7 separate regions of the Homo sapiens genome follow, and regions 2, 3, 4, 5, 6 and 7 are each linked to region 1. Evidence: promoter capture Hi-C in 16 types of primary human blood cells and fetal thymus (Javierre and others, 2016). All regions are on one chromosome and are shown on one strand. Each heading gives the region's core, a stretch centred on a gene start or on the middle of the fragment in contact. The rest is flanking DNA. Distances are from core to core; before and after follow the strand shown. Region 1 holds the start of FGF18 (fibroblast growth factor 18). Region 2 overlaps FBXW11 (F-box and WD repeat domain containing 11). Region 3 overlaps FBXW11 (F-box and WD repeat domain containing 11). Region 4 overlaps FBXW11 (F-box and WD repeat domain containing 11). Region 5 holds the start of LOC107986476 (a long non-coding RNA gene). Region 6 overlaps LOC105377725 (a long non-coding RNA gene). Region 7 overlaps SMIM23 (small integral membrane protein 23).

Region 1 (4,276 bases), core at 459-2,958:
GAAGCATGATTCTTAGCCAGGAGATACTTCAAACTAGCAGATGGTAAGCCAAAAACTCCTCGACTGGGTTTGTCAATCTTCCTATAAAGCAAGATCAAAGACGGCGGCAATGACTCGGGTCATCGGTGGGAGCATTTCTGTCCATTTCTATTTATGGTTGGTCATTGCATCCTATCTTGGGATCGATTCATTTTCTCCAGAACTTGGGAAGTTACGAGTAACTCTGCAAGTCCAGCTCTGGCAATCAGAATGTCTAAGTAAATTCAGCTTAAAAGCTTCATGCAGGAATTTTCCCCCTCAGCACCTGGTTTTGAAAAGGTTTTCTGCACTTGTGTCCGATGTTGAAACAGAGGCTATCTGTTTAAAATAGCCTCAGCTTTGAAAGGGAACTTAAAATAGCTTGCAAGGAGGCCTGATATTTGGAACAATTACTAATGTTTTATAGTCATGGCTTCAGCAAATAGCACTGTTCGACAGTCCTACCTCAGTTTATGCTCCAGTGGACCATCAACCATTGCCAACGCAAGGAGGCTTTAACCAAATAGTCCAGATTCCTGAGTTTTGCTTGAGCCTGTCCTCCAGCGTCTTTCTCACTGTGACCTATTTTCCTTAGCATCAGGCTCAAGCAGAGCTTGGCTGACACCAGCTCTAGACAGTGAGGCAGGTACGTGACAAGAACACCTACGTTTTGGGGTTGGTGGGAAGGACAGGAGTTATGCCTCTGGAAGGGGCAGAGGCGGTAAGAACCAGTGTCCTGAATGGGGCCCTGGTTAAAGGAACGAAGCTGCCTAGTATGCAAACGGAGGCAAGTCTTAGTCCGGTTTTGGGAGGAGGCCGGAAGAGGGCCTCAGCGTGGTCGCTGACCAGAGTCCTGCTGGCTGCTCCCCGGCGTGCAGCCGTCCGTGCTGGGGTTGCAGTGACGTCTCGGGGCCGCTTGGTGGTAGCCGTGTGTTTCCAAAGCTGGCTCGCCTACGGGAGAGTCCAGCTGGGATCCCGTGAACCGACCCCAGAGCCCCGGAGGGGGCGAGGGGTGGGAAGGAGAGATGCCCGGGAGCCCCCTTCGCAGCGGCAGGGACGTAAGAAGAGGACGGGGGCTCACTTAAGTGGGTAGCCAGTCAAGAGGGTGGCTGGGAAACTCCACGATCGCAGGGCGGGTAAAAGCGACCCCCATTCAGTGGAGCCGCCCCGGGGCTGGGTTTGACCCGCCCCTCTCGGCTCTCCACTAGAGCGCTGGTGAGTGAGTGCGAGTAGCGAATGTGGGCAGGTGAGGACGTTCCGTACCTAACTGCGTTCTTGGGGAGCATCGCCTGCCCAATTTGGGCAACGTTTGCGCGGAGGAGCGGTCACTGCGCTCGGGCGCAGAGCTCCGACGGCTTCCAGCGCTCACCAGCTTCAGTCTCGCGGGTCCTGCCCCTTTGGAGCTGCCGGTCCCGTCTCCGAGAGTCTGAGCGCCTCCCCTCCAACCCCGAGCCGCCAGGAGAAGGAGGAGGAGGCAGCGAGAGGCCGCGGCAGGCAGGCGAGCAGGCAGGGCCGCCTTTGATGTGGGCTGGGCGCACCCAGGCGAGCTGAGCGCCCGTCCGGCCGCGCCCCGAGGGGGGAGCCCCCAGGCCCCGCATCCTCATTGTGCCGGCTCGGGCCCGGGCCCGCCCCCGGCCCCCCGCCCCCTCGCCGCCCGCGCGTAGAAAACGCCCCGGCCGCCGCCAGTGGTGGGAGGCGGCGATGCGCACGGCCGGAGAGACGCGGAGGAGGAGACATGAGCCGGCGGGCGCCCAGACGGAGCGGCCGTGACGCTTTCGCGCTGCAGCCGCGCGCCCCGACCCCGGAGCGCTGACCCCTGGCCCCACGCAGCTCCGCGCCCGGGCCGGAGAGCGCAACTCGGCTTCCAGACCCGCCGCGCATGCTGTCCCCGGACTGAGCCGGGCAGCCAGCCTCCCACGGACGCCCGGACGGCCGGCCGGCCAGCAGTGAGCGAGCTTCCCCGCACCGGCCAGGCGCCTCCTGCACAGCGGCTGCCGCCCCGCAGCCCCTGCGCCAGCCCGGAGGGCGCAGCGCTCGGGAGGAGCCGCGCGGGGCGCTGATGCCGCAGGGCGCGCCGCGGAGCGCCCCGGAGCAGCAGAGTCTGCAGCAGCAGCAGCCGGCGAGGAGGGAGCAGCAGCAGCGGCGGCGGCGGCGGCGGCGGCGGCGGAGGCGCCCGGTCCCGGCCGCGCGGAGCGGACATGTGCAGGCTGGGCTAGGAGCCGCCGCCTCCCTCCCGCCCAGCGATGTATTCAGCGCCCTCCGCCTGCACTTGCCTGTAAGCGCCCGCGCGCGGGGCTGCCCACCTTGCCTGGCTGTCTGTCCGTATGCCTGTGCCCTGTACCTCTGTCTGCCCGCCCGTCGGTTCACCTGACTCTTCGACTGCGTGTCTGTCTGTCCGTGCGCCCCCTTCCTCAGGTCCCACTGACCGCTTCTCCATCTGTTTCCCGCAGGTGTTTACACTTCCTGCTGCTGTGCTTCCAGGTACAGGTACGTGGGCTCCTGACTTTGACCTCCTCCCGCCCCTGCCTCGCGGTACACGCCGACCCCCCTTCCCCGGCCGCGCCCCCTCCCTGTGCCCCACCCCTCCTGGGCGCTGAGCCCAGTGCACCTGTTCCCAGGGCGCGGAAGGGCGGCTCCGCGTGCGCCCTGCGCCGGCGGGGAACCGGCCAAGGGCAAGGGGCTCTGCCGCGGGGCCCGAGGAGGCGCTGGCTGTCGCGGCCACTGTCGGCCTCGGCTGGGAGGAGATCCCGCAGAGCCGGCGGGCTCAGCCGCAACAATATACCCAGCTCTAAGACCCCTGCCCGCAGCCAGCGAGGGGTAGGACCTAGGGATTTTCTCTGCCAACCTTCCCTTAACATCGCCGCTTCCAAACAAAAAGACTTTCAGCCGAGTGGATTTCGAGTCCAGGGAGAAAGCTTCAGTTGTAAATTACTCTGTGGTTTTGAAGGCGCTTGCAGCACTGAGACACACACACAGACACACACACATGCCCGGGACGAGGGGAAGCTCGAGGGCGCCTAGGCCGAGTGGCCGCTGCCCGCGAGGCCGCTCCCGGATGGGCCGCGCTCCGCACTCCCTCGCCTAAGGTGGTGCAGCCCTCGTTGGTTCCCCGCCTGCTCCCGGTTCGCTCGCTCTCCGTGAATCAGAAGAGGGCTTGGCGCTCGGCCTGGAAAGCACTTGCTAAAATCTGATCTGTTACTTCAGCAGCTTTCAGACTCGGGAAGGTCTTGGCACGCAGACAGTTGGAACGCTCTGGCTTCCAAAGCCGTAGAAATGAAGGAAAAAGGGTTGGGGGGAGGGAGAGAGAAGAGCGAAAAAGGGAGCCGACTTCAGCCCCGATTAGAACCAGACCAGGGCTGCCTCTGCATGGTGGGGGTCGGGGGGCGGCGGGCAAAGGGAATAGGAAGCGTCAGCTCCCCAAGCCCCCACCCACCTAGTGCTGCAAGGGGCCAGGCCAGGAGGAACTGGACACAGGTCAAAAGAGGGTTGTCTGACCCTTCCCCCTCGGTGGAAGGCAGGTGGCTTTCCGGGATTAGAGAAGATTCTTAGACCTTAGCCTTCTGGATTGTGGAGATCCCCAGAGCTAGCCTTGAGCACAGGAAATTGGTGGTTCTCCCGGTTTTCTGGCTCAAGGAGTGTTGTGTGCCTTGAGCACTGCGCGACTCAACAGCCACTCGCAGTGTTTGGCGGTGGTGGGCCTGCTATCTTCCTTCCACGCCCAGGAGAGGGTTGTTACCCTCCTGATAGGCACTGAGCTGGGGGCATCCATTGGGGCTTGGGGATGGAAGGGTGGACGGACTGATGGGTTCTTTCCTCCTGTTGGCCAGGCTGGGGTCCCCAGTGACTCCTTGAATCAATATAACTGGAGTCAGTAACTTAAGACTGGCTGTTTGCCAAAGCAGATGTGACCTGTGTGGTGATGGGGGTGGGGGTGGGGAACGGCTGGTGTCAAAGAGGGAGGCCAGTGCCAGGCATGGCCTGCCTGGTCTGCAGCTGAGTCCCCAAGCAGAGGGCAGGCCCTGGGGTCACTCCAGGGGGTCTGCTTGTCTGACCTGGGCAAGAGCTCTTTTCCAGAGTGCTGTGCCTGGGGGCAGGAGGGATGAAATGGGCAAGGAGTAGCAGGGAGGCCTGCGGATGTGTGGCTCAAGCCTCTGGATGCCTGCTGCTGTTGGTTCTTCTTGAAGTAGGGCCCAGGAGGGGCTGCTGTGTGGTCTTTGTGTTCTCCGTGGGAGCTGGAGGGAGGGAGTGTGGACTCTGC
Region 2 (4,276 bases), core at 451-2,950, 500 kb after region 1:
AGCTGGGACTACGGGCACACACCACCATGCCCAGCTAATTTTTGTATTTTTAGTAGAGACAGGGTTTCACCATGTTGGCCAGGATGGTCTCGATCTCTTGAACTCGTGATCTGCCCGCCTCAGCCTCCCACAGTGTTGGGATTACAGGCATGAGCCACTGCACCCAGCCAAGAGATGTATATATGTTTTAAACTAAAAGCTTTTGAAATATAGGAGCCAGAATCCTCCAGAGCTATTGTGACCTAAACCACCTTAATATTTTCTTTACTTAAGATGGAAACACAAGAAATGTCAGACTTCCCTGTACACTATACATGAAACAACTCTTCACAGTGAGAAAATTTCACTCTTCATTTATTCCAAAACAGAGAAATGATGTTTACTTATATGGTTGATAAGGAAACAACCCCCTGAAGAAAATAGCAGCTATTGCCTTAAGGCTTCATAAAGAAGGCTAGACATACAATTTAATAAAATTGTTTTTAATAAAACCATGGGGGCTGCAATAGTTCTCCCATCCTACATACTTTTCCACTTCTTTTATAAAGGTTTCAGAAGACACCAAAGGGAAAATGCTGCTCTCAAGTTACACTGACCAGAGGATCCAGAGGATTCCAGGCAATGCAAAAGATGTCTGGAGAAAAAAGCATCCAAGAGTCTAATTAGGTTTAGAAATTAGAGAAATGCTATACACATCCTTGCACTCTAGACTCACTCTGTGTGTGTGTGTGTGTGTGTGTGTGTGTGTGTAAATATATATATTCAATTCAGAGATATATTTTATATATATGTCTCTCAGAAGTTACAATACACTCCATTAAGATACAAAAGGTTCTATAATATACTATTATTTTAAAATTAGGTTAAATTCATTTAATCCAACTTTCCCAAGTTTGTTGGACATGGACAGCCCCCATTTTATAATAATATCTATTAATAATAGCTCAGCACATATTGGCAAACACTGGACTAGAGCAACAGCCTGGCGTAATTCCTTCCTCTCTCTTCACCAAATACTTTTGGGAGACAAAGGAAACACCCACTTTGTTAAATACAATACAGTCCTCTCCTATTCCCCATCATCTTTCTCAGCCTGCTACAGGTTGAGCATCCCACATGCAAAAATCCTAATTCCAAAAGTATAATACAGATATTCTAAAATCTGTACATTTCCAAAATCAGAAACACTTTTGGTCCCAAGCAGATAAGGGATACTCAATCCGTACACAGGGTCGCAGGAATAAGTGGTGATGGCAAAAATAGAAAATTCTCTTATGGAAGCTATAATTTTTTTAATCACTTTGAATTTTATTCCTTAAAGGCAAGAGACAAAAGGTCACAGGTTCAAGGGTGAGGTAAGAAAAAACAATGAGCTTCCCAAGAGAAAAGAAAGGTCATTTCCTATATCCAAACTCTCATGTGAAACCATGGCCAATCTGAGAGTTGAAATCCTCTTTAAGTCTCCAACACTTATGAGAAGGAAAAGTTATTTGAAATACCAACCAGTTTACTTTCTACCCTTCTCATCATTTCCTTCCTCTTATGTCTACCAAGGAGCATCACACGTAAATAGATTACAATGCAGACCCTCCTATTATTCTGATACTACTACCAATCAAAGATATAACCTAGGAAGAAGAAGCTAGACTCTCAGGCAGATCAATTTTAGTACTATTACCATTTTGAGATGGATATTTCTTTGTTGTGGGGCTGCTGTGTGCATTATAGAAGGTTAGCAGCATCCTTGGCCAGTGCCTGTGCCAGGAGCATTCCACACCCTCTGAACTGTGAGAATCAAAAATGTCTCCAGATCGCCAAATGTCCCAGGGAAGGGGGCTAAATCACTCTCTCCACTTGAAAACCAGTGCTCTAGGGATGTGGGCTCCTAAACTTGACACCGTGGGAGAATATACTAAGGCACTACCATCTCAGGCCTGGCCCTTCTTTCTCCTTAGCCATCTTTCCTTGGCCCGTGTGACAGTCTGTGATGCTATTCACATACATCCTGACCTCGCCATGGTAGGGTAATTCACGAAGTATGTTGATATCTAAATTCAGGGCTACGTCCTGCTTGCCATTAAATTCATATTTGGAAAACCATGGTTATCAGTGGTTCTTTACTAGAGGTCCATGGACTTGGGGCATGAATGAGGACTATAAATAACAGGAAGCCATATATATACAGCTGATCATGGAGCAGATGGAGCCTAGGCATACGTTTTCCTTTCAAGTTCTCCAAGTAATTCTGATCTATCTCTGCTCAAAAATCATTGCTATGGCAAAATGATGCAGCCCATGTGGTAGCACCAACCTAAGTAAGGAAGCTGCACTGATGGTATCATGACAGACTCCATCCCAATATGTGATATTTCATAACTACCAAATACCACAATACTCTAACGCCTGTTCCTGGGTGTCTTTTACAAGGAAAAATTATGAAACCAGTCATTCACTGGATATTAAAAACATGACCAACTATATACCTTATCAAGTAGCTCCAAAGAAGAATAGAGAAAATAATTGTTATTTAATGATTGCCTATGATGGTCAGGCATTGTGATAGAAACTTTATATAAATTACCTTTAATGATGACCTTGTATGATAGCACCTATATCCTGTTTTACACATTGGGGGAACCATAGCTCAGAAATGTTACACAACTTGCCTTGGGTTACACATCAAAAAGTACCAAGATTCAAAGCTAGACTCTGTAAGACACTACCTTCCCAGTTAGACTGCATATATATTATAGCTATTTGCAGCACAATGAAGATCCTAATCTTGTTTCAAAGACACTCTTCCCACCATCACAAAGAAAACACAGGCTGGGCGCAGTGGCTCATGCCTGTAATCCCAGCACTTTGGGAGGCTGAAGTGGGCGGATCACTTGAAGCCAGGAGTTCGAGACCATCCTGGCCAACATGGTGAAACCCCATCTCTACTAAAAATACAAAAATTAGCCAGGCATGGTGGCACATGCCTGTAGTCTCAGCTACTTGCTACTTGGGAGGCTGAGGCAGAAGAATCTCTTGAACCCAGGAGGCAGAGGTTGCAGTGAGCGAAGATCGCACCACTGCACTCCAGTCTGGGCAACAGAGCGAGACTCTGTCTCAAAAAACAAAAAAAAAGAAAAGAAGAGAAAACACAGGCACAGTTACTCTGTCTTCATAAACTGAATTCTGAACATAAGTGGAAGTAGCGTAAGCTTCCATTCTAGGGATGACTGGTTTGGATGGTGTCTGGTTAGTTCATTTAGTCAGGTCTCCATTATCCTCAGAGTCAGATTTGGAAACTTCATGCCAACTGATCACAGATATGTTCGGTGAAGGAGGATGGGAAGCATAATCAAATTCCACACCGCTATTTAAAAAAAAAAAAAAAAAACCCTGAAGGGCTGGGCACAGTGGATTTACTCCTGTAAATCCCAGCACTTTGGAGGCCGAGGGAGGAGGACTGCCTGAGGCGAGGAGTTTGAGACCATCCTGCACAACACAGTGAGACTCTATCTCTTAAAAAAATTTAAAAATAAGCCAAGCCTCGTAACTATTCAGGAGGCCAAGGCAAGAGGATCTCAGAAGTTTGAGGCTTCAATAAGCTAAGATCATGCCAATGCACTCCAGCCCGGGCAACAGAGCAAGCTTCATCTCTATAAAAAAGCAATAATACTAATAAACAAAATAAAAAATAACTGAAAATACATATAGTGTGTTTTTTTAATATGATAAACAGATTAGCAAAAGTAACTTTCCTTTTTATCTGTGCATTTTCATGAACATGGCGACCCCAATGCAAAAAGTCTTCGCCCTGGGAAACGAATGCATTCTAGGTAGCCGAGATGTAAATTACATTTCTGAAACTGAATTCTATATAAAACCAAACAAAACCTGAGAAAGTGGACCCCATTGCATCATCATTCTAAAACAAACAAACAAAAAAATCCCACAATATTGTGACTTGAAAACTTGTCAAGATGTTTTCATCAACTGGGTAATTTAGTACAGCAATACTGTGTCTGCTATGGAATCTCAGCTACCACTTAGAATTCATTCTTTCTTCAGAGCATTTCAATAATCCTAGAATCTCTTCTGTACATTCCCCCTTCTCTCTTTCATACCAATCAACGGAAGTGGTAGGCTGGTTCCAATGACCTAGCCTCCAGTTTCATTTAGTTTATGTATAGGTACAACAGGCTCTTAGCAGTGATATATGTTTAACATAGGAGCCACGAACTGACACAGAATATATTTCAATTGGAAAACTCTCTACTTTGAGAAT
Region 3 (4,276 bases), core at 518-3,017, 480 kb after region 1:
CTAAGCAAAATGTGAAGGAAAAAACATAAATACATAGCTTTGAAACGCCAAATCCCATCAAACTATATAATACAGTTCATAAAGGAAATACACATTTCAGAGGGAGAAATTTTAACAGCTTTAACTTTTTCTTCCAACTTTTGACCACTCATTTTCCCCCCTTTTTAAAAATAGGCCAGCACATTTGCAAGTATAATTGCATTTTTGAGTAATCAAGCTGACTCTATGTCAATAAAATTTTTTCAAGGGAACAAGCAACCCAAGTACTTACCACCCTCTTCTTTCTGAAAGTCCTTTCCATAGGGGATCAGTGCGTACCATTCGTTCAATCAGCTTCTTCCAAAGCATTCCTTCTGAGATCACTCGCTGCCATTCTTTACATACCAGCTCTGCTGCACACAGAGACCTGGCATCCAGGTACGAAAGAATGTTTTCTGCTATGTGATCTAAGCCTTGCTCTACAAAACAGAAAAGGGAATGAAGGAACGGGAAGAGAGATAGAAAGGTACCAGCCATCATTTCCTTAAAGATAAGAGGAATAAAGAAATCCTGAACCAAGTAAAATATTTTAGTCATATCAAAAGTTCTACAGATACTCAAATCCATGAGTACATAAACATATACACTTCTTTTTGGTTCTGATTTTTTACGATAAAACAATTGATAGCAACTCTTCTCTGTGTGTAAAAGCTGACCTTGGACAGTTCTGTTATTTGTCAAATATTAAGATAAGACTTTTCATTTTCTTTTATATAACTCTCACAGCACTCCTATAGGGCAATGACGCCCCAAGTTTGACAGATGAAGCACAGAAAGGTAAAGAACTCAAGATTTTACACTCCCTTGGCTTTACTACTGGAACTCGGATTTCTTGCTTCAAAGTTTGTGTTCATTCCCATCTTACTCACTGTCTCTCATAACAAATCATATCCCCATTAATCCATACCCGGTGTGAATCCCTGGGAGATCAGAAGACAAAAAAGGCAAAACACCGACTCATCTTGAAAAACTTATGAAAAGTTAAATGGCAATCCAAGAATTAAAGTCGATTGTGCTTAAATGTATTTTTGTCAATCTTTTCATCTCCCTTTCGTGAGTATCCATTTTCTGTTCCTAAACAGATGGGACAATCCTCAAAAGCAATAGCCCCATGTCTACAAATCCTAGAATCTTAGAGGTCATTGGCTTCAACCTCCCACGATACAAGGATACTCTCAAAGAAAACCACTTTCAGCCTCTGCCTGACATTCACAATGGGAAGATGATCAACATGGCCACCACTGTTGCCACCTGTAAACTCCCATCCTGTGGCGGTAAGTATGTCTTCTACAGTTGCAAGAAATAAAGCTTCTCCCCAAGCTTATTCTGTGTAGGGACGAGAACACAGAACTTATCATCAGAAAATTCCCATTTCAAGTCCCAGGTTCACCACTTACTAGTTCTATGACATGAAACAAACACTGAAACATCCCTGTGCCTTGAATTTTTGTGCCCTAACATACAAAATGGTAATCACCAGTAACAACTATCCTTTCTTACACTGTCTGTCAGAATCAAATTCAACAGTTTTATGAAAACATTTTATAGACAAGCACTCTACAAGGTTAATATCTGTTCTCTTTTCTCAAAATAATTAGAAGTAGTATAATAGCACTAAACTTGGTTGTTGAAAGGCCAGATGTAGGTAAATTATTAAACTTTCAGAGTCAGTTTCCTCATCTGTATAAGATTACGATAATCTCTACTTGATTCTGAAAATATCAAAATGAGATGATGCATGAAAAATGCTTTACAAACTAAAGTTCCTTCAATTCTAAGAATGACTATTATTATACCATTGGTTATAATTTCCAGGTCCTTCATATACTAAAATTCTCTTACTCTGGACTAGATCAAAGACCCAAGCTATGGTCTAAGAATAAAGACTACACTGGGACCACTGTCCTTTCCTGCATGTCATTTACAGTTAATGTGGTCAAAGGCTGCACTGCCTTCATCTGATAGTCATATCACAGAAGACGCCTAAGATGGCAGTAAGTTAGAATAAAATCCCAGGCCTCTCCCCCAAAAACATCTATTGAAACAATTTCCCCGAATGCTCTATTTGCACAGCTAGTTGGAAAGGTGGGGGGCAGCTTTGTGCGGTTTATATTTATCCTTACTATAATTCACCTTCAAAGCTTTGTCTGACCCATCCATTTCAGTCTCTAGAATTCTGATTTTTGTCACACCCAGAAGAGTGGGTATTCCACACCAGACCTGCATGATGGGCTAAAGTACTAAGGCAAACATGTTAAACCATGTTGGCAAACACGTTAAACGGGTCAGAACCAAGGACAGCACCCATGACACTAGCTATTAGTACCTATTATTATAATATTTCCCTCCAAGCTAGCACTGATGCCGCATCAATATGCCCAGGGCACCCACACTGCGACATCCGGTCTGTAGTCATCTATATGTGCCATTGCCCAGTCCATATCTCTCTATTCTGTCCTCGGAGGTATTTGGAAAAATCAGCAGATGATGATATTACCATCTATTTACATCATTCTTCAGACCTACCTACTAGCCTGGTAACTTTATCCAAAAAGGAAATAAGGTGAGGAGGGTATGGCTGCTTTCATGTTCCCGTGCTGGGGTTTACTACATAAAGTTGTATTGCAATTTTTCACTTACATGTTGACACTAGCTGCTTGGTAACCCTTTTAAACATATCTAGTTCATGTTCATTATAGAAAATTTATAAAGTGTAGATGAGCAAAAATTTTTAAATCCCTAAACCCCATTTCCCAGAGAAGGGAACCACTTTTCACATTCTGTATACATCCTTCTAGGTTTACACAACCATACACAATCTTTTCAGAGGCTGATTAGCCTTTGAAACTCATCTAAGAATTCTGCTAAAGCACAACATCAAATTTAATAGCTAAATCCCCCAAAAACACCTTCTCCAGTTCTTAAAACCAGGAAGTCTGCTCATCAATCATCTCTGGTGCTATCATGCAAGACTACCATGTGCAACTGTACAAGCTGTACAGGGCACAATTGTACCCAATAGTTCTGCATACTGATTTTCAATTGCTTCACAATGTTCTACAATTTGAAAAATCACAACCACAGGTTTTGCCACTATCCAGGCATACAATGTATTTAGGCCTACTTGTCTATAGGAGCTATGTGATTGCTAAATATCTTCACATCTTTCTCAAACACAACTTTGCTAACCTTTGTTTTAAAGCCATTATTCTTGGGTTGGGGGGATGGTGGGATTAGGTTAATGGGAGTGAAAATATGTTGTTTCTTTCTATTATCACTATACTATCTATTCTAAGCACACTATCCCTTCATCCTTTATAATCTGGCTCCAAATAGTTAATTATTTTGTTTTCAACTCTTTCAATTTACTTCAACATTTTGGACAATTTAACATTATTTGGAGTTTGGTCTTCTTGGTACCATTCTCAAAGGTTTCACAGGGACTCACTCTATCACCCAAGTTGGAGTACAGTGGCACAATCATGGCTCACTGCCACCTCAAACTCCTGGGTTCAAGCAATCCTCCCACCTCAACCTCCCAAGTAACTAGGACTACAGGCACATGCCTCCACACCCAGCTAATTTTTTTTTATCATTTGTAGAGATGAGGTCTCACTATATTGCCCGGGGTGGTCTCCAACTCCTGGGCTCAAGCAATCCTCCTGCCTTGGTCTTGAAAGTGCTGGGATTACAGGCGTGAGCCACTGCGCCTGGCTGCCTTTCTTCCATCTTCTATGTTTACTTAAAATCAGGGAAATCCAAGGATAATCACGTGGGGTTCTGCTTGTGCCTCTCCATCACTAGGATTGACAAATTATTCATCAGAATTTCAAACTGCAGAATCCGTCAGCCTTCTTTTATCACATTTTTGTTCAGTCTCTAGCCGTGGACTAACAGACTTAGCTCTTTCAATCTTTCTAACGCTGGGGTACTTATCTATCTTCCTTTTCTGATTTCTACACTTAATATTAGAACATAGCTAATTACAGCATCTCACTCTGTTGCCCAGGCTGGAGTACAGTGACATGATCATGGCTCACTACAGCCTTGACCTTCCAGAATCAAGTGATCCTCCTGCCTCAGCCTCCCTAGTAGCTGAGACTACAAGTATGCACTACCATGCCAGGCTAATTTTTTTTAAAAAAAATTTTAGTAGAGACAGGATCTCACTATGTTGCCCAGGCTGAGAACATAGCCACTTTTAAAGTAATGTAAACTTCACATCATTAACCCAAAT
Region 4 (4,276 bases), core at 1,168-3,667, 450 kb after region 1:
TATAATACAACATACAGCTCTTAGATGTTACTAATTTTTTTAAAAACGACTCCGCAGATAGATCTACTGCTGCATTTGCTGACATGGAGAGACTCTCACCTGATATTTTACGGGTGAGTATTTTACTGCAAGGTTAAATCATCATTAGGGTAGTGTTTCTTATTATGCATAAATCTTATGGTATCACATGGCTATAATTTTTTTCATGTTACAATAAATGAAAAGCATTTGGGGCCGCACGCGGTGGCTCACTCCTTTATTCCCAGCACTTCAGGAGTCTGAGGCGGGCAGATCAATTGAGGTCAGGAGTTCGAGACCAGCCTGGCCAACATGGTGAAACCCCATCTCCATTAAAAATACAAAAATCAGCTGGGTGTGATGGCACATGCCTGTAGCCCCAGCTACTTGCAAGGCTGAGGCAAGAGGATCACCCGAGCCTGGGAGGCGGAGGTTGCAGTGAGCCAAAATTGCACCACTGCACTCCAGCCTGGGTGACAGAGCAAGACATTGTCTCAAAGGGAAAAAAAAAAAAAAATTAGAAAAGAGCAGTAAAATCTATAAAGTTGACTGCCAAGGTTGTTAAAAGTAATAAAATTGAAGAGACAAACACATTTGTGGTCTCACTGCTTGTGCTGGGATACAGGGAACCTCCAGCTTAAGCAGATAAGATTTTTCCATTGACTTATAATTGATCACAACTAGGCAGTTGTTCTGAGGTTTCCAAAAAAGGTAGGTAGGAGGGAGGGCCTGGAGGAAGTAACACAAGTTTCCTTTCTACCACAGCCAATAAGAAACAGCATTGGTGATCACTGCTTCATCTCTCAACCAAAGGAATCTTGTTCAGGGCACTTTTAGGTAATATATAGATGTTGTCAGTTCATCTATTGTAATACACCAGAAAAAGAAAACCATAATATGGATGTCTTGAATTTTGCCATATGCCTCTTTAAGCAGTTTTTACTTGGGTCCATTCCTCCTTCCCTATATTTTCTTAGGCTTATTGGGAGGGGAGGTCAGGGGGAGGAGCAATCACTCAAGAGATCCTTGTCTCCTTCCTCTGTAATTCCTATTTTAAAGCTCCATTCAATAATTACAGTAATTCTGCCACGTGGATTTTTCAACTGACTTATGAAGCATCTATCCAGAAAGAAAGCAGCAGGGCAGAAGATTATGATCAGGAACAGTCTGAACACACTCGAGACCCATAATAGCAAATAGGTAAGTGGCTTACAGGTCACTCCTGCAAGGCAGACATAACCAACCACAACCAGTCCTTTGGGGTCCACGTGGGGTCCCAGAATCCTTCCAAAGGCAACACACCCACCAGTCACTACTGACCAAACTGAGTTGGCATGAAGAAAACACTTATTTGCCATTCCTGATGTAGACCCTTGGTTTACCGCTAATAGATGGAGCAGGGGCAAGACCAGAAGTCAGCCAACTTTTTCTGAAAGGGCCATATGGTAAATATTTCAGATGTTGTAGGCCATAAGGTCTCTGTTGCAACTACTAAGCTCTGCCACTGAAGCACAAAAACAGCCACAGACAATACATAAAGGAATGAGCATGGCTGTGTAGCACAAATGTTTATTTATGAACACTGCAATTTAAATTTCATTTAATTACTGCATGTCATGAAAAAAATTCTTTTAATTTTTTTAAGCATTTAAAAATGTAAAAACTATTCTTAGCCTGTGGAGACAGGAAAAAAAAAAACTTAATGGATAAGCAGAGACTAATTAAAAAAAAAAAAAACGGGTAGTGAGTTAATTTTGGCCCCTGGTTATATAGTTTCTTGACCTCTAGGTAAGACAAACTTCCTGGTGGAGTTCTATTTATTGGATCTTGGAATCTTGATGAAAGAGTATCTGAAAAGATGGTAACTTAGTGAATAGGTACCAAGAGTTCTCAATCTCTCCATCAAAAAAATTCCTAATTCTGCACATGGACTTTCTTATACTTTTGAAATTCAATGAACAGGAAAATATGTAATGATAAAAGACCACTAAGAATTAAGTAACGATTTTAAATAAATACAAATTTTATTAATCACAACAGTCTTTATATACATATATCCATAGTAGTATGTTTATATGTAAACATTTATTCAATCTACAAAGTTTAATGTGTATAGAATTCACTGGCCCTCAGCAGAACACAGAGTTGTCAATACTGTTCCTAAGTCATCAGTTCCTAGGACACAGCCAAGTAAGACTTCTCATCTTCCAGACTGAACACGCTTAGTAATAATCAAAACATTCTGTCATCAATGGTTATAATGACTTTCAGTGTTCCTGTAACCAGAGGAAAGGACTTTGCTTCTCAGTGTATCTGTTGTGTTTCATGGAAGCAGAATAGGTTTTAGGGGTCTCTCAACAGATACTCTTCTCTGATTCATCCTTGAGGAAAGGATGGTGGTGGGTGGATTGTGGTAGTGGGGAAGAGAGGGATTTTGAATGTTTTGTCAGATGGTGATTTTTTTTTTTTTTTTAATAAAAGAACTGAAGGACAGGAAAGAAAGAGAAAAAGAAGATTCTTGTACCCCAAAATAAAATTCAAGACATTTTACTGGTGTTAAATTGATTATGACCTAAGAAATCATTTAGGAACAGTTTTTAAAAACAGGAACCATGTTCATCATCTGCCAAGATGAAAACCCACACAATAGGCAGGATTCCAACTCAAGCCTTGTATGGATGTGACTATAAAGATCCAGCCTTACACTTGAACTCTGCAAAAGTTGACACGTCTAAGAGAGACCTTGGTTCACACATCACCAAGGAACCCAAATCACAAAATTTCCCCAAAGGGAAGGTGAATTCAATCAGCAAAATTGGAAGGGGAGAGGATAGTACTCACCTGAAACGGGTGAAAGTGCAGACTGTTATCTAGAGATGTAAGTGTATGTTCTGGAGGGAGAACGGGTCTCATTCTGGGCACTGGGAGGCACATTTAAGAAATCCCAAATCAAAATAGTGTCATCATGGGAGCTGCTGATGATCTGAAACTCATCAAACTGGAGCCGAAACACACGTCCAGAATGTTCCTATGAAATACAAAACTTCATGAATAAAATGAGATCTTTACAGCCCCTGATATCTCACAATGAGAAACTGGGCAGAAGATGAAAATGCAGCCACTTAAACAGACTTCCTAAACGACTGTACAGAGCTCACTGAACTGTGTCCTTCATCCCAAGAACAAATGTTCTTCTTTCTTTTCCTGCTAGGCCTTTTCTTTCATTAAACTTTGTATCTTAGACTCTAGTCTACCAATATTTCAAAGATCATCTCAAAAAGGGCCTTATAAAAGTAAACAACAATACATAATACCCATTCTTGATACACTCTAAAAATCCACTGGAAAACCTAGAACCAGAAAGACAGTTTGTTTTAACATGACCAGGATCTACCTCAAATTGCTGCCAGCATCAAAATTCATGGTGAAATAATAATATAAGAGTTCCCATTAAAATCAAGAAGACAGTTCTGCATCTTCTAGTAAATGCAAGAAGTGAAGAAACAGAAATAAAACTACTAAAATCTTTTTTAAATCTACCAATATTTCCAAATGACTATCTCTTCAAAAATATAACAGTACTTATAAATGGTATAAAAATTTATATATAGTATAAAAATGTGCTGTTATTAAAACATAACCACAAATAGCCATATTAAGAAATCTTCCAAACCTACAAGAAGGAAATATTGCTTGCCCTATGAGGAAACCAGTCCACCTACAAATCAGGAAGCCTGCCTTCATATCTTAAGCTGCATTATGTCTCCCCTTAGGAAAGTGCTCACAGTAATGTAAACATCAAATATTCTCTGGTTTTGGCTAAACAAAATGAAGACTGAAATTCTCTGAAGGCATCTTGTGAGACACACAAGCGTTCCTGTGATACACCTAGACAGGACTATCTGCAAATGGTCATCCTCCAGCACAGGGAACCAATTCCCGTCTCAAGAGATCACATACCACCAATGTGCGCAAACACAATGTGCTTGCTGGGGCTCGAGGGTCAAGAGCAGCTTGCAAGTCCCAAACTTTAATTTTCCTAGAAAGGAAAATGAGATGTGATTAGTGGAAAAGTGAACAATTTATATGCTGTCAAACATTTCCTTGAAAAAAAGTAGTGCATCTGAACTGCCTATTTATAAAAGCTAATGGGGAACATGCTTATGTTTTTACAAATCATCTGAACCAATTACACTTGATTTTGGAAAAATTAAGAACCTACACATTCTCAGAATTGCTGAAATTTTAAAGAAATATT
Region 5 (4,276 bases), core at 1,086-3,585, 430 kb after region 1:
CAGTAAAACAGGAAAAGTTAACATTTACTCAACAAGTCTTGCATGCCAGACACAGGCTCTGTGCTTTCTATACATTCTTTTATTTATTCCTCACAAAATTCCTGTGATCTCCTCTTTCCTCCCATCTTGCAGATGAGGACCCTGAGGCTCATGGAAGTTACAGAACTCACCTGGGGCCAGTCAACCACTCAGCAGCAGGGCCGGGTCTGCCCCAGGTCTGTGTAGTGTCAACGTCCTCACTCTTGGCCACTCTGTGATTCTAGGAGAGAAGCCATGCTGTAAAAGATTCCAGGTCATGCCTTGACAGGTTACAGTGACCACATCCAGGAGATCTTTAAGGCCTTAATTGTGCCCTTCAGTTCCTGTCATCATCATTATCATTATCTCCACCACCACCATCATCATCATCTACATGCCTGAAACTGGCGTATTCTTATGCCATGAACTGTAAAATATTTCATTTATTTTCCCTACTTTAACCAGCCTTGTGACCTTGTTCAAGTAACCCCACCTCTCTAAGCCTCAGTGTTCTCATGCATGAAATGGGGCCTGTAAATTCCATTTGCAAAAGGACAGTGAGCTGTTGTTTTCATCCCCAATCCCTCTCCTCCCTGAACTCCCTCCCTGAACTCCCTCTCCTTCCTCCGTGAAGTGCCCTCCGCCCCCAGGGCCTGGATTCCGGCCACCAGCTCTCCTGCCCCGGCTTTTAACGTTGGTCCCTGCAACAGGCCAGAACATCTGCCTGTGAACGCCATGGAACTCTGCCCCTGCGCTGGGGTCCTGCCAGCAAAGAGTTTAAACAAACAGAACTGGGCAGAAACGAGATGGTCCGCCGGTTGTAAAGGGTCGCACCTCATGCGCACACGCTCGGGTTTCATGATAATCCGAGTGATGGTTCTCCTGAGGAGGATTAGGAAGAAAACGTTAGGGGGCTCTGCGGGGAGCAAGAAAAAGTGGTTGTGTACCCAAGACAAACACTGCCAAGAAAGTGGCCTTTGCTGACCAATAAACCAAAGTGTGGGAGGGGGTGGGATTGGGGTACTGGAGGAAAGGAAAATTTGGGGCTCTGTCCAACTCTTCTAGTGCCTAAGTCAGACCTTCACCAGCAGAAGACCGTTCCACTGAATGTGTGGAGAGAGATTACAGCAACCCCAAACCACTGTGGTCAGAGGCTGGCGGGAGCTCCTGCATGTGGGGGAGGAGCAGCAAGCCCATGTGCCCTCCAGAGCCAGGCAGGTAAGCCAGGAGGGGCGCAAGGGACACCGCAGAGCACACACAGTGAGCCACAGCAAATGACACCGGCCTCAGCACTGGGAAGGTATTAGGGAGTGGTGGGGACTGCATCCAGCTGGAGGAACACACCCCACCCAAAGCAGGCACCTGGGACTGAGCTGCAGCTCCAGCCGGTCTCTGCCAGGCAGGAATGTAGGCCCAGTGGTGCCAATCTTCTCTGATTTTTTTTTTTTCAAGAGAAGCAGAAAAGAACAAATTTTGTTTTTTGATGTGCAGGTTCTCAATTTTTAAACATTGGCAATGAGTTCAAATGGGTTTTGAAATACTATGTGGGCCAAGCAAAATATATCTGTTAGCCAGATTTGACTCACAGGCCACTGGTTTGCAATTTTCTGAAGTTTTGGTACCGTAATAAAAGCAATGGGTCCTGCCTGGATTCAAACACCAGTTCTCCCATCTGCTGGCTGGGCAACCTTGGGCAAGTCCTCTAGCCTCTCCAGGCCTCAGTTGCTCCATCTGTAAAATGGGGATAATAGTAGTGTCTACTTGATATGATATTTGAGAAAACTTCATGAAATCATGTCATGGAAATTCCTTGATATCTCTCTCTCTCTCTGGAAATGTTAGCTTTATTACTAATGCACCCTCTGCAGGCTCCCTGGGGGGATGGAAGATAAAAACAGCGGCAACGGGCAAAAACGGAGGTGAGGAAAATGGACCAAGCAGGCAGAACAGAGCCAAACCAGAAAACGCCGGCCAAGCTTTCCCTTACTTGCTGTGTCAGAATGGCCCTTCAGGGATGATTGGCACAAGCTGACATCAAATTGACAAGAAAAGATTGGGCAGTGGCCTGAAGAGTGGCCCTCCAGTATCTGTCCACCTCTTTCCAAAATAGCAACAGGCGACCTTGGGAGACCTTTTGGATTGCAGCAGGAAGAAAGTCAGTTACAGAGGGTGTCCTAGAGGAGGTAAAAGGATGCCTCCGGTCTGTGGCTCAGCCACTGCCCCACTCTGTGACTTCAGCCAAGTCATTTCATCTGCCTCTGAGACTCCACTTACCCATCTGTAAAATAGGTTGACAACAGCTGCCTCTCAGGATGCTGGTGGTGATTAGCGATCACGCAGTATAGGTAGGGTCTGGTACAGAATTCATGTTCGACAAGTGGGAGCTGCCGTTATTGGCTGTCGTTTAGTTATTTTTATGAATGAGGCAATAGAGGTGCTTGTCTGACCAGCATCCGCTGACCTCTCTTCAAGTAACTGCCCCGTTTGCCTCTAAAGAACCATTCCTCTCCTGTTCCCCACCAAATGGTTCCGTTGGTGTTGGCTCCTCCCCAGGCTCCAGGGACAGGCGTGTGAACCCGGCACAGCTAATGAGAATAGCGTAGTATCCCAGGCCAATGGGAATCAGATCCAGGACTTGCATTCAAACCATGAGGGAAGAGAAGCTTTCCCTTTCCACCAGATCTGTTCTAGTGAGGAGTAGGCCGGAGCTGCTGGCAGCTTTCTCACTGCCACATGGGAAGAGCCTGTCTGAGAATGATATCAATAATGAGGAAATCAGAGCAAAGATTTGGAAAAATTCTTGTTTCTTGATAACACTGCTTAAGCACCTGGATCCAGCTGTGCCTAAAGTTAGCACTGTGTCGGACTCTTCAGTTACCACAGCCAAAAAATTCATTTTCTGGCTTAGACCATTTTGGATTGGGTTTTCTGTAACTTGCAACCAAGAAACTCAACAGATATACGAGCCTTAAGGATGAGTTACGAAAACACCCCAGGGGAGAGTTTCATTAGCTGGCACGTCTTATAGGCTCTCAGACCATGCTTTGAGCATGATAGCACTACTTCCTTCTTCCAAGAGTATGATAAAAATCCTTCCAAGAGTATTCCAAAAGCCTTGCACAGACTTTGGGTAATCTTCTCTTAAAGCAGTGGTTCTCAATGGGAGAGGGATTTTGTCCCCTAGAGGACACTTGGCAATGTCTGCCTACATTTTGGGTTGTCACAATGGGGAGGCAGGAGGGATGATACGTGCTACTGACATCTAGTGGGTAGAAGCCAGGGATGCCGCCAAATATCCTACAAGGCACAGGACAGACCCCACAAACAATGATCCCATCCAAATGTCAGTCGTGCTGAGGTTGAGAAACCCAGGAGAAGTGATACATCATCCCGTGTTCTACTCCTACCAGCCCCACCATACTTAAAGACGAAAACCAGGCCACTTAATGGGAGTATGGGAACTTTATATACCTCATGATGTTTTCTTAGGGTATGCAATGCTGTGATTCAAGCCCAGTTGAAAGAAAGACATTGCCCAAAGTTTACACACAGATATGCCTAATCCCCTCTGGGGTCTGCAGCCTCCCTGCTATCACCATAACAATCACAGCCCATAACTACTGGACGAACAGGAAGAGCAGGAAACCTCTCTGAAGATGGACAGTCTAACACATGCCTGCTCTCCCACACCCAGCAATAATGGATCCGACAAATAAGCAAATTATACGAATCCCACATAGCCAATAAAGGGGGAAGACAGCATTTCCTCTCTGTCTAGAGGACCATTTCTCAGTGTACTGCTCCTCAGAACACTAGTCCTGTGAGATACTCAAAGGGGAAAAAATAATGATTTCAAGGTCAAAAAGGTGTGGGAAACACGAAAGCCCCTGTTACCTTTGTGGATGGTAACAACATCCATGAACACATGAAAGGCTCTGATAAGTCCCTCAGCAAATAAACCTGCTTCCTTTTCTTTAACTTGCTATTTCCCAAACTCACTTGATCTCAGAATCCCTTTGCACTATAATACTTAATTAATATTCCACTGAACTATTGTCCCACAGGACACACATTGGGAAACATTGCAAGGGAACTACAAAGAAAATGAAATATAAGATATTAATGAGATGTAATAGCTGATCCAGGGAAACCAGGTGACGGTGGAAAGAGACCAACCGCTTTGGCAGGAGAACTGTGCCTTAAACTTCTCAGTATTGCTCATCCCAACCTCCCTGGGGCACCCACTTATTTATGGCTA
Region 6 (4,276 bases), core at 502-3,001, 410 kb after region 1:
TGAGGTGGGAGGATCACCTGAGCCCTGGAGGTCAAGGCTGCAGTGAGCCATGATTGTGCCACTGCACTCCAGCCTAGGTAACAGAGTGAGACCCTTTATCAAAAAAAAAAAAAAAAAAAAAAAGTGGTGGATTCCTCAAGCTCGGTGTTCTTTTGTTGCCATGCAAACACACTCCACACATGACATCCATCCAGGTCATATCACGTTGCTCCCCTAGACTGGGGTGCAGAAAAACCAATGAATTATGCTATTGCTCATGTTACTTCCTGTGTCATAAGTAATAAAGTCCTTTGCCTTGGACTCAGGAGTCTCATGTATTCTGCCAACATCCATGAAATACTAATAGTCTCTTATTAGCTTGTAGGTAGGGTAAAATAAAATCACAGACTCAATGAGGACTGATTCCAGGGCTGGCCCAGAAAAAGTTAAGATTTATCTTTTACCAAAACATAAAGTAGTGCTTAGAGAAAGATAGGGACTCATCTAAAAAGATACAGAATTCAAGGTGAAGGGGCTCTCACTGCCCAAATCTGGGACAATTTTATTATCAAATAAATGAGGATAGCAACTGATTGTAACCTGTCGAATAAGATAGGAACCCATAAATCCAATCAATCAATGATATTTCTTGTACTGAAAAAATTGTTCAGAGGAAGTTTTAGAAGACATGGGCAAAATGACCTGCTCTCTATATAGAATGGAAGACATTAACTCTTCTTTATTTGTTTCTTTATCAGAATCCATTCCCCATTTCCCAATATTTGTTTGTGGTTCTCCCCTCCTTTCTCAGGCCATGAGTTCTGGATAAAAATCCCTGTTTCAGGGGTAGAACACATAACCCAATCCTGGCCCATAAGGCACATCATGCTTTGGGCCATTTGAACTAGTTCAGGGATGAGTGCTTGACCTCACCAGTCCAATTAAAGTGAATCTCAAAAGTTTTGTGGAGGTAAGGGGGAAACTCTTACTTTTTTCCATTGGGATTGAACTTGATGTGAGTTTGGAGCTTCTCAGCCCTCTTGTCACCATAAAAGAAGAGCCTGAAACTTTTGCAGACACCACGTACAGCCTGTGAATAAAGCTGATGTGTAGATTTGTCGTGTTCTTTGCTGAACATTCTTAATATGTTTATGGAATTTTCAGCCTTATGAATCTTTTCTCTCTAAGGTAGAATTCAGAAAACTTATTTCTCTAGCCCCCTTTGCACCTAGCCGCTAGTCTATTCTAGGTGCCACCAACAAGATGTATTCATGTAGACTTTGAATATAATGTAAGAACATGGAAAAGGAGGCTCTTCTCAAAATCCAAGTTGCTAGAGAAGGTAGCACCAGAAACATCTGGTTGTGAGGGTGTTGGTAGTAGTTTAAAAGTGAAATTACTAGAACAGAAATAACATCAGTGCTGGCAGCAGTATTCATTGCACTGAAGTTGAGTTCCTGACAGCATTGTGAGATACAGAATTTAGTGCTTGGTAGTAGCAATGGCCACAGTTTTCTCAACAGATCAGTTCTCCAGCATTTTTAGGAATATTATTTCTGGAAACTTAGCCTTGAGCCTGATTCTTCTGCCTTTGCAACAATTCTACATTATTGCTATTCTTTCATTAAGCTCTTTTTCTGCTTATTAAGTCAGAGTCAGTTTCTATCATGCACAACTAAAAGTCTTCTCTGATTAAAAAAAATTTTTTAATTGGTACAAGGAGTAGGGTAATGAAAGTAACAGAACCTAAAATATGGCAGAAGAAGGATCTGATTATTACTGACAGAAGCTGATGAACATTCTTATGCAGTTGCAAACATTTGGTCAAAGTGCTGCCTGCTCTGCCTTAAGACATTATATCTATTAGGGATATGGAGTACAAAGAAATTATTGAAAATTCCAGAGTATTAATCCATGCTGGCCACTTCTTACTATTTTAACAGAGTCCTACAAGAGAGATGATTGCCAACAAGAGCTAGCCAGTCTTCTTCAAGCCAGTGGAAAAGATACAGCTTTGCTAAGGGAGGCACTATCTGACTACAACCTCTAATCTAAATTGACTGAGAATCCCATAATTTGAAGTCTGGTGGGTTGAAAAAGCTCAAGTAACAGCACAAACAACAGCCATAAAGCCACAGTGTTAGCAGGAAATTATATCAGTGCCAAAGCTGTTGTCTAGTACCTTCCCTTAAGAGTTTCCTGCCAAATAAAGAGGGAGCACCAACACACAAAGATCAAATTAAAGGAGATGTTTCTCCACCCAAGGTTGCTATTTTAAATTGCCCTGAAGAATCAGCCAATAAACCAAGGGCTAAAGGGCTGGATAGGGCACAGAGAGAGACAATGGGTTAAAAAAAAAAAACCATTTAGGCTTACCTACTCTGTCTAGATAAAATCTTTTGTGGTTACTTACATATGGAAGTCTCTGAAACCAAAGACTGGATCTCTATTACATTTTTGAGGAATGTATATTTCCAAACAATCTATGATAGCCTGTGACTGTTCAACTCTAAAAATAATCCTTGGGGATCAAACTTCTACCAAGAAGAAATGTGCAGTCCCCAGAAAAGACAGCAACCCCAATATCTTTCAGCTGTAGCTAAGGTAATAAGCAGGAAGTATCCTCCCACATCTTGTCCTGATGAGTGGACTGCACATTATTACTCAGAGATCCTGAGTTTCAAGATGGATGCAGTAACTGCCTTTGGACTTTGGACTGTACATAAAGTATATGTATAGAAATAAAAGCAAGTGGATGTTGGGTAACTAAAAGGGTGAACTATGGCAGACATTTTTAATCGGCCACCTAAAAGCCATTCATAACCTTCTTCCTTAATTTTCTTGGCAGCAAAGTTAAAATATTCACCTTCCCAGACACCTCTGCTGCCAAGGGTGGCCATATTACCCAGTTCTGGCCAATACAATCTAAGGAAAATTGCTGGACAAGGCTTCCAGGGAAGGTTTTTAAAAGAAATAGTTTCAGATGACATAAGTAAGGCAATTAACATTTTTCTTTCAAAAATAACAAAAATATTACATACAAAGTTGAAGACTCCTTCACCCTTCAACTCTAGTCTTTTACCCTCCCCTCATCTCCTGTTATCAGTTTAGTGTGCACCTTTCCAGACCTTTTCTCATGCATTTGAATACATACATACCTATACACACACACAGAGAGAGAGATAGAGAGAAAGAAGATATGTAATATTGTTGGGAGTTACCTAAATGGTATCATGCTAAGGGTATAACTCTGCAACTTGCTCTTCTTACTCAGTAACATGTTTTGGAGATATTTCCATACCATACTTGTAGATTGATATGGTTTGGCTCTATGTCCCACCCAAATCTCATCTTGTAGCTCCCATAATTCCCACATGTTGTGGGAGGGACCCAGTAAGAGATGACTGAATCATGGGGGCAGGTCTTTCCTGTGCTGTCCTCATGATAGCGAATGGGTCTCATGAGATCTGTTGGTTTTAACAACTGCAGTTTCTTTGCACAAGCTCTCTCTTTGCCTGCTGCCGTCTATGTAAGATGTGACGTGCTCCTCCTTGCCTTCCACCATGATTGTGAGGCCTCCCCAGCCATGTGGAACTGTAAGTTCAATAAACCTTTTTCTTTTGTAAATTGCCCAGTCTCAGGTATGTCTTTTTCAGCAGTGTGGAAATGAACTAATACATAGATCTTCCTCATTCTCTTTACCAGCTACATAGTTTCCCATAGTATGAATGCTCCACAATGTATTTTTTAAAAATAACTTTAACTTTTATGTTAGATTCAAAGGGTACATGAGTAGGTTTGTTACCTGGGTTTATTGTGTGATGCTGAGGTTTGGGGTGCAATTGATCCCATCACCCAGGTACTGAGCATAGTACCCAATAGTTAGTTTTTCAATCCTTTCCTTCTTTCCTCCCACTGTAGTAGTCCCTAGTGTCTACTGTTGACACCTTTATGTCCATGAGTCCCATTGTTTAACTCCACTTACAAGTGAGAACATGCAGTATTTGGTTTTCTGTTCCTGAGATAATTCACTTAGAATAATGGCCTCTAGCTGCATTCATGTTGCTGCAAAGGACATGATTTTGTTCTTTTTTATGGCTGCATAGCATTCCATGGTGCATATGTACTACATTTTCTTTATGCAATCCACCATTGATAGGTACCTAGGTTGATTCCATGTCTTTGCTATTGTGAATAGTGCTGTGATGAACATACAAGTGCATGTGTCTTTTTGGTAGAAAAATTTGCAAAATTTATTTAGCCATTTTTAAAACTGATGAGCACTTACACTCTGTCT
Region 7 (4,276 bases), core at 743-3,242, 370 kb after region 1:
ACCACGGCCTCCCAAAGTGTTAGGATTACAGGCGTGCGCCACCGCGCCTGGCCTAGAAACAATTTTAAACCAATCTCTTCTGAATATAGAGGTAAGAAATCTCAACAAAATAGTAGCTTATCAAATCACATGATATATAAAAAGGCTAGCTAATGCATCATGAACAACTAGAGTTTACTGAAGAAGCTCATTTGGCTCAATATTTAAAACACAATTAATGCAATTTACCACAAAAATGGGGACACATATAGTTGCTCAGTGGGTAAAGAAAAGTCATTGGTGGTTTCTTATAAAATTAAACATACATTTACCATATAACCCAGCATTTGCATTTCTGAATATTAACCCAAGAGAAATGTGAACATATGTTCACATAAGGAATTGTATATGAGTGTTCATAGCACTTTTATTCATAATAGCCCCAAACTGGAAACAAGCCAAAAGTCCATCAACAGGTAAAGAGACTGATTGTGCAATATTCTATGTTCATATAAAATAAATACTCATCAATAAAATACACAATATACTCATCAATAAAATTGAGCACAAAAAAATAGAGGCATTTCGAAAACATTGTCTTAAGCAAAAGAAACTAAATGCAAAAGCACACACACTGTGTAATTCCACTTATACAAGGTTATGGAACAGGCAAAACTACTCACAGTGACAGAAAACAGATTAATGGTTCTCTCCAGGCAGGGCAGGAGTGAGGATGGAATTGACTGCAAAAGGAAACTTTCTAAGATGACGGAAATGCTCTACATCTTGATTGGGGTGATAGTCTACAGGTATAGACATTCATCAATACTCATCAGACTCATCAGACTATACATTTTAAATGTGTGCGTTTTATTATATGTAAATTATACCACAATGAAGTTGATTCCTTTTCAAGATCAATTAAAATGAAAAATGTTTACATGAGAGAAAATGCAAATTGAACATCAGTAAGTTGCAGTGTTATCTATTTCTTCAAAGTTTGGGAGTTTTGTAGTAAGTAAGTGTGACTTAGATAACTAGAACAAAAGTTAAACTCAAAAAACTGTCTTATAAGCATTCCCATGTCTGGCCCTTTGTGATGGAAGCAGGGGGACCTGGAGAGAATTCATCCTCATGTTCTTCCTCCTCTTCCTCTTCTTGCACCCTAGACGCTGTTGGCATTGCTGATCTTGGTGCTGTACTTGAGCACAGAGATATGGGGTGAGCATTCTGGAATCTGAGAAAGAAGGAACCAAATCCACATGAAGCTTGGTGGAGTGTTCCAAAGATGGTTGTATGTTAAGGGGACCTCCATAACCCACCTTCTCCCACTGACCCTTCATCACACTGGGATAACTAACCATGTTTATTTCAATTAGTGCTCATTTGCTCTTCAGAGGTGATGTTTGTGCCTGTTTCAGGAAGCAGTTGGGAGGTGTCAGAAAGGATCAGAGAATGTAACTACTACCAGAATCTTGCAGTTCCCCAGGTAACATGTCCAGCAAGGTACTGAGGTGAGGCAATCTGGGAAGGCTTTCCAGAGGAGGTGTCATTGGCAACATGGGTCATGAAAGATAAGTAGTCGCTTGTCAAGTGCAGAAGGTGGGAACAGGTACTACGAGCACAATGAGTAGCATGTGCAAAGGCCCAGGGATCTTTTTGAAACCAGTGGGGATGGGGAGGAGGGTCCTATCTGAGAAAGCACAGGATGCCACTTCTGTGTCTGCCTTCCAGGGGCTTGAATATCAGACCAACGAGCCCTCAGAAGAACCGATAAAGACCATCAGGAACTGGCTGAAGGAGAAGTTGCATGTCTTCTCGGAGAAGTTAGAGGAAGAGGTGCAGCAGCTGGAGCAGCTAGCGTGGGACCTGGAACTGTGGCTGGATGCTCTTCTGGGAGAGCCACACCAGGAGGAGCACTGCTCCACATATAAAAGTCACTTGTGGGAGTGGGCCTGGGCCCTGGGGAGAGAGCACAAAGGTGGGGAGGGGTTGCTAGAGATTTCTCTAAGCGGGGCAGAGCTCTGACTCTTGAAGTTCCAGTCAGGCAAGAAAATAAAGTAGTTGGGAAATGAAGTCCGCTGTTCACATTCATGAATGCTGACAGAAACAGCGTTGGCGGAACACCAGAGCCCGGCTGAGATATTCTCCCTGGCACCATGACGTGGCCCCCTGGAACAAACACGGGCTTCAGAGCCAGCCATAGGTTCAGGACTCTTCTACTTTCTTGAGACGTTGTGTAAATTTCCTTAACCTGAGACTCAGTTTCCTCACATATAAAAATCGGGGAAACACACTTTGCCTTATAGGAAGACAATGTATGTAGGGTGTGTATACAGAGTGCGTCTGGCACAGAGCAGGTATCGGATAAATAGCTCTTCCTTTCTCACATGCCTTTTCCTTCCTCCCTGGAGTGTGGTAAGAGGATACTAGCTCTGGCTAAGTGTGTGGCTATTATGCGGCATTCAACCCTCTGACTCTGCTGGTGGAAGTATACGTTCCTAAAATCTCTATTTGGTGATAGCTATCAAATTTACAAATGCATTTTCTCTTTGACCCAACAATCTGCTTCAAGGAATTTATCCCACAGCTGCATTTGCCCACACATGAAATTACATGTGTATAAGATTATTCACCCCAGCTTTATTTGCAGTAGCAAAAAAATGGAAGCAACCCAAATGATACCAGGAGGGCTCTGGTTATATAAGTTATGGTACAGCCAGACAATGAACAATCATGTAGCTATAAAAGAGAATGAGGAAGCTTTCTACTATGGTGTGAATATGGGTGACCCCCAAAATGCATATATTGGAACCTAATACTCAATGTGACAGTGTTAAGAGCTGGAGCCTTTCGGAGGTGATTAGGTCATGAGGATTCTCCCCTCATTAGTGAGATTAGTGCCATTATATTAATAATAGAGGCTTGAGGAGCCTGTTTGCCCCTTCCACCATGTGAGGACACAGCTAGAAGTTCCCTTTTATGAGGAATAAGTGCTCACCAGACACTGAATCTGCTGGTGCCTTGATCTTGGACTTCCAAGCCTCCAGAACTGTGAGTAATAAATGTCTATATTTACAAATTATGCAGTCTAAGGTATTTTAACTGCCCACATGGACTGATACTTTCCTTCTGCTAAAATGGGAAAGCCTGAAAGATATGTAGTTAAGTGAAAAAAATTAAGGTATAGGCCAGGCACAGTGGCTCACACCTGTAATCCCAGCACTTTGGGAGTCCAAGACAGGCGAATCACTTGAGGTCAGGAGTTCGAGACCAGCCTGGCCAACATGGTGAAACCCCGTCTCTACCAAAATTACAAAAAATTAGCCCAGCATGGTGGCATGCACCTGTAATCCCAATTACTAGGGAGGCTGAGGCAGGAGAATTGCTTGAACCCAGGAGGCAGGGGCTGCAATGAGCTGAGATTGTGCCACTGCATTCCAGCCTAGGTGACAGAGTGAGACTCCGTCTCAAAAAAAAAAAAAAAATTAAGGTGCAAAAAGGGAGCAGAAGATAAAAATATATATTTTGTTGTTGATATTGATGATGATAATGACGTTATTAAATATGCATAAAAACTCTAGAAGGATACAAGCCTGCCTGGGAGTGAGGGGATTTGAAACTGGGAGATGTGTAACAAGGATGGGAGGAAACTTTTCAGCATATATTTTTCATACTTTCTTGTTTTCAAACTATGTGAATGTTTTGCTTATTCAAATATTTTTTAAAAACAAATTTCTATTTTGCATGCAGACAAGAACTGGAATATATGTATATAAGCAAAAATAACAGTATCATTATGATGAAATTATGATTGAATTAATTTTTAAAAACAGTCCCAAAAGAAAACCCTTCTCTTTTGATTACTTTATTTTGATTAAACAATGATCATTTTTTATCTAGGACTTCCCCTTTTTCCTATTACCTCCAGGAAACTTATAGTTGTTTGTTACTGGAATTTTATCAGCCTCATTGTTTTGGGTTATTTATTTTCCCCTTTCTATGACTTTTTTGTTTTCTATTCTGATGGAGCTATTATACATGTACCAATTATTAGAACCACCTCAAATCTTTGGATAGTGATGAGGGTTTCAATTACACTAATCTCAGAGGACATCTGACTTACAGGGGATGGCACAGCAATTTGTTTGCCAGGAGGGATTAATCAATTGCCATTTGGGATGGAAAAAGTCTTTGCAAATTATGATCCCAATTTTCCACTTTGAATATTTGGCAGGAGGTTGGGACCAGAATCTATTTTTTCACATTTCCAGCTATTTCACCAAGAGTTCTACGG

Evidence for each region. Contacts are between HindIII fragments. The CHiCAGO score rates a contact against its expected background, and 5 or more counts as called.
Region 2: a fragment that was not itself captured here is called in contact with the fragment with the promoter of FGF18 in region 1 in 6 of 17 cell types (M2 macrophages, M1 macrophages, megakaryocytes and 3 more); the score reaches 8.4 in M2 macrophages.
Region 3: a contact is called between a fragment that was not itself captured here and the fragment with the promoter of FGF18 in region 1, in 16 of 17 cell types (megakaryocytes, endothelial precursors, M2 macrophages and 13 more). The highest score is 46.5, in megakaryocytes.
Region 4: a contact is called between a fragment that was not itself captured here and the fragment with the promoter of FGF18 in region 1, in 6 of 17 cell types (megakaryocytes, endothelial precursors, M1 macrophages and 3 more). The highest score is 19.0, in megakaryocytes.
Region 5: a fragment that was not itself captured here is called in contact with the fragment with the promoter of FGF18 in region 1 in 6 of 17 cell types (megakaryocytes, endothelial precursors, erythroblasts and 3 more); the score reaches 38.6 in megakaryocytes.
Region 6: a fragment that was not itself captured here is called in contact with the fragment with the promoter of FGF18 in region 1 in 1 of 17 cell types (endothelial precursors); the score reaches 5.1 in endothelial precursors.
Region 7: a contact is called between a fragment that was not itself captured here and the fragment with the promoter of FGF18 in region 1, in 1 of 17 cell types (erythroblasts). The highest score is 5.3, in erythroblasts.

What each region holds. Positions count from the first base shown.
Region 1 is chr5:171,417,939-171,422,214 of GRCh38, forward strand. FGF18 (fibroblast growth factor 18) reads left to right here and starts at 1,709. Exons shown (of 5, transcript NM_003862.3): 1 at 1,709-2,293; 2 at 2,469-2,505. The coding sequence starts at 2,262. RefSeq lists silencers at 1,546-1,655, 1,776-1,885, 2,026-2,075, 2,136-2,215. The HindIII fragment of the contact is 2,658 bases long and covers 274-2,931 here.
Region 2 is chr5:171,917,050-171,921,325 of GRCh38, forward strand. All of the region lies in intron 2 of FBXW11 (F-box and WD repeat domain containing 11), which reads right to left. Among named protein-coding and RNA genes, the nearest start is that of FBXW11, 87 kb to the right of the region's middle. The HindIII fragment of the contact is 3,007 bases long and covers 198-3,204 here.
Region 3 is chr5:171,899,643-171,903,918 of GRCh38, forward strand. It overlaps FBXW11 (F-box and WD repeat domain containing 11), which reads right to left. Exons shown (of 14, transcript NM_001378974.1): 5 at 272-458. Among named protein-coding and RNA genes, the nearest start is that of FBXW11, 100 kb to the right of the region's middle. The HindIII fragment of the contact is 821 bases long and covers 1,358-2,178 here.
Region 4 is chr5:171,865,751-171,870,026 of GRCh38, forward strand. It overlaps FBXW11 (F-box and WD repeat domain containing 11), which reads right to left. Exons shown (of 14, transcript NM_001378974.1): 12 at 3,979-4,057; 13 at 2,860-3,046. The coding sequence ends at 2,885. Among named protein-coding and RNA genes, the nearest start is that of SMIM23, 82 kb to the left of the region's middle. The HindIII fragment of the contact is 6,340 bases long and covers 1-4,276 here.
Region 5 is chr5:171,847,491-171,851,766 of GRCh38, forward strand. It overlaps LOC107986476 (a long non-coding RNA gene), which reads right to left and starts at 628. Exons shown (of 3, transcript XR_007059052.1): 1 at 1-628. The HindIII fragment of the contact is 687 bases long and covers 1,993-2,679 here.
Region 6 is chr5:171,828,232-171,832,507 of GRCh38, forward strand. All of the region lies in intron 1 of LOC105377725 (a long non-coding RNA gene), which reads right to left. Among named protein-coding and RNA genes, the nearest start is that of SMIM23, 45 kb to the left of the region's middle. The HindIII fragment of the contact is 9,856 bases long and covers 1-4,276 here.
Region 7 is chr5:171,789,082-171,793,357 of GRCh38, forward strand. It overlaps SMIM23 (small integral membrane protein 23), which reads left to right. Exons shown (of 4, transcript NM_001289970.2): 2 at 1,149-1,200; 3 at 1,401-1,468; 4 at 1,714-2,055. The coding sequence ends at 2,007. Among named protein-coding and RNA genes, the nearest start is that of SMIM23, 5.4 kb to the left of the region's middle. The HindIII fragment of the contact is 1,495 bases long and covers 1,246-2,740 here.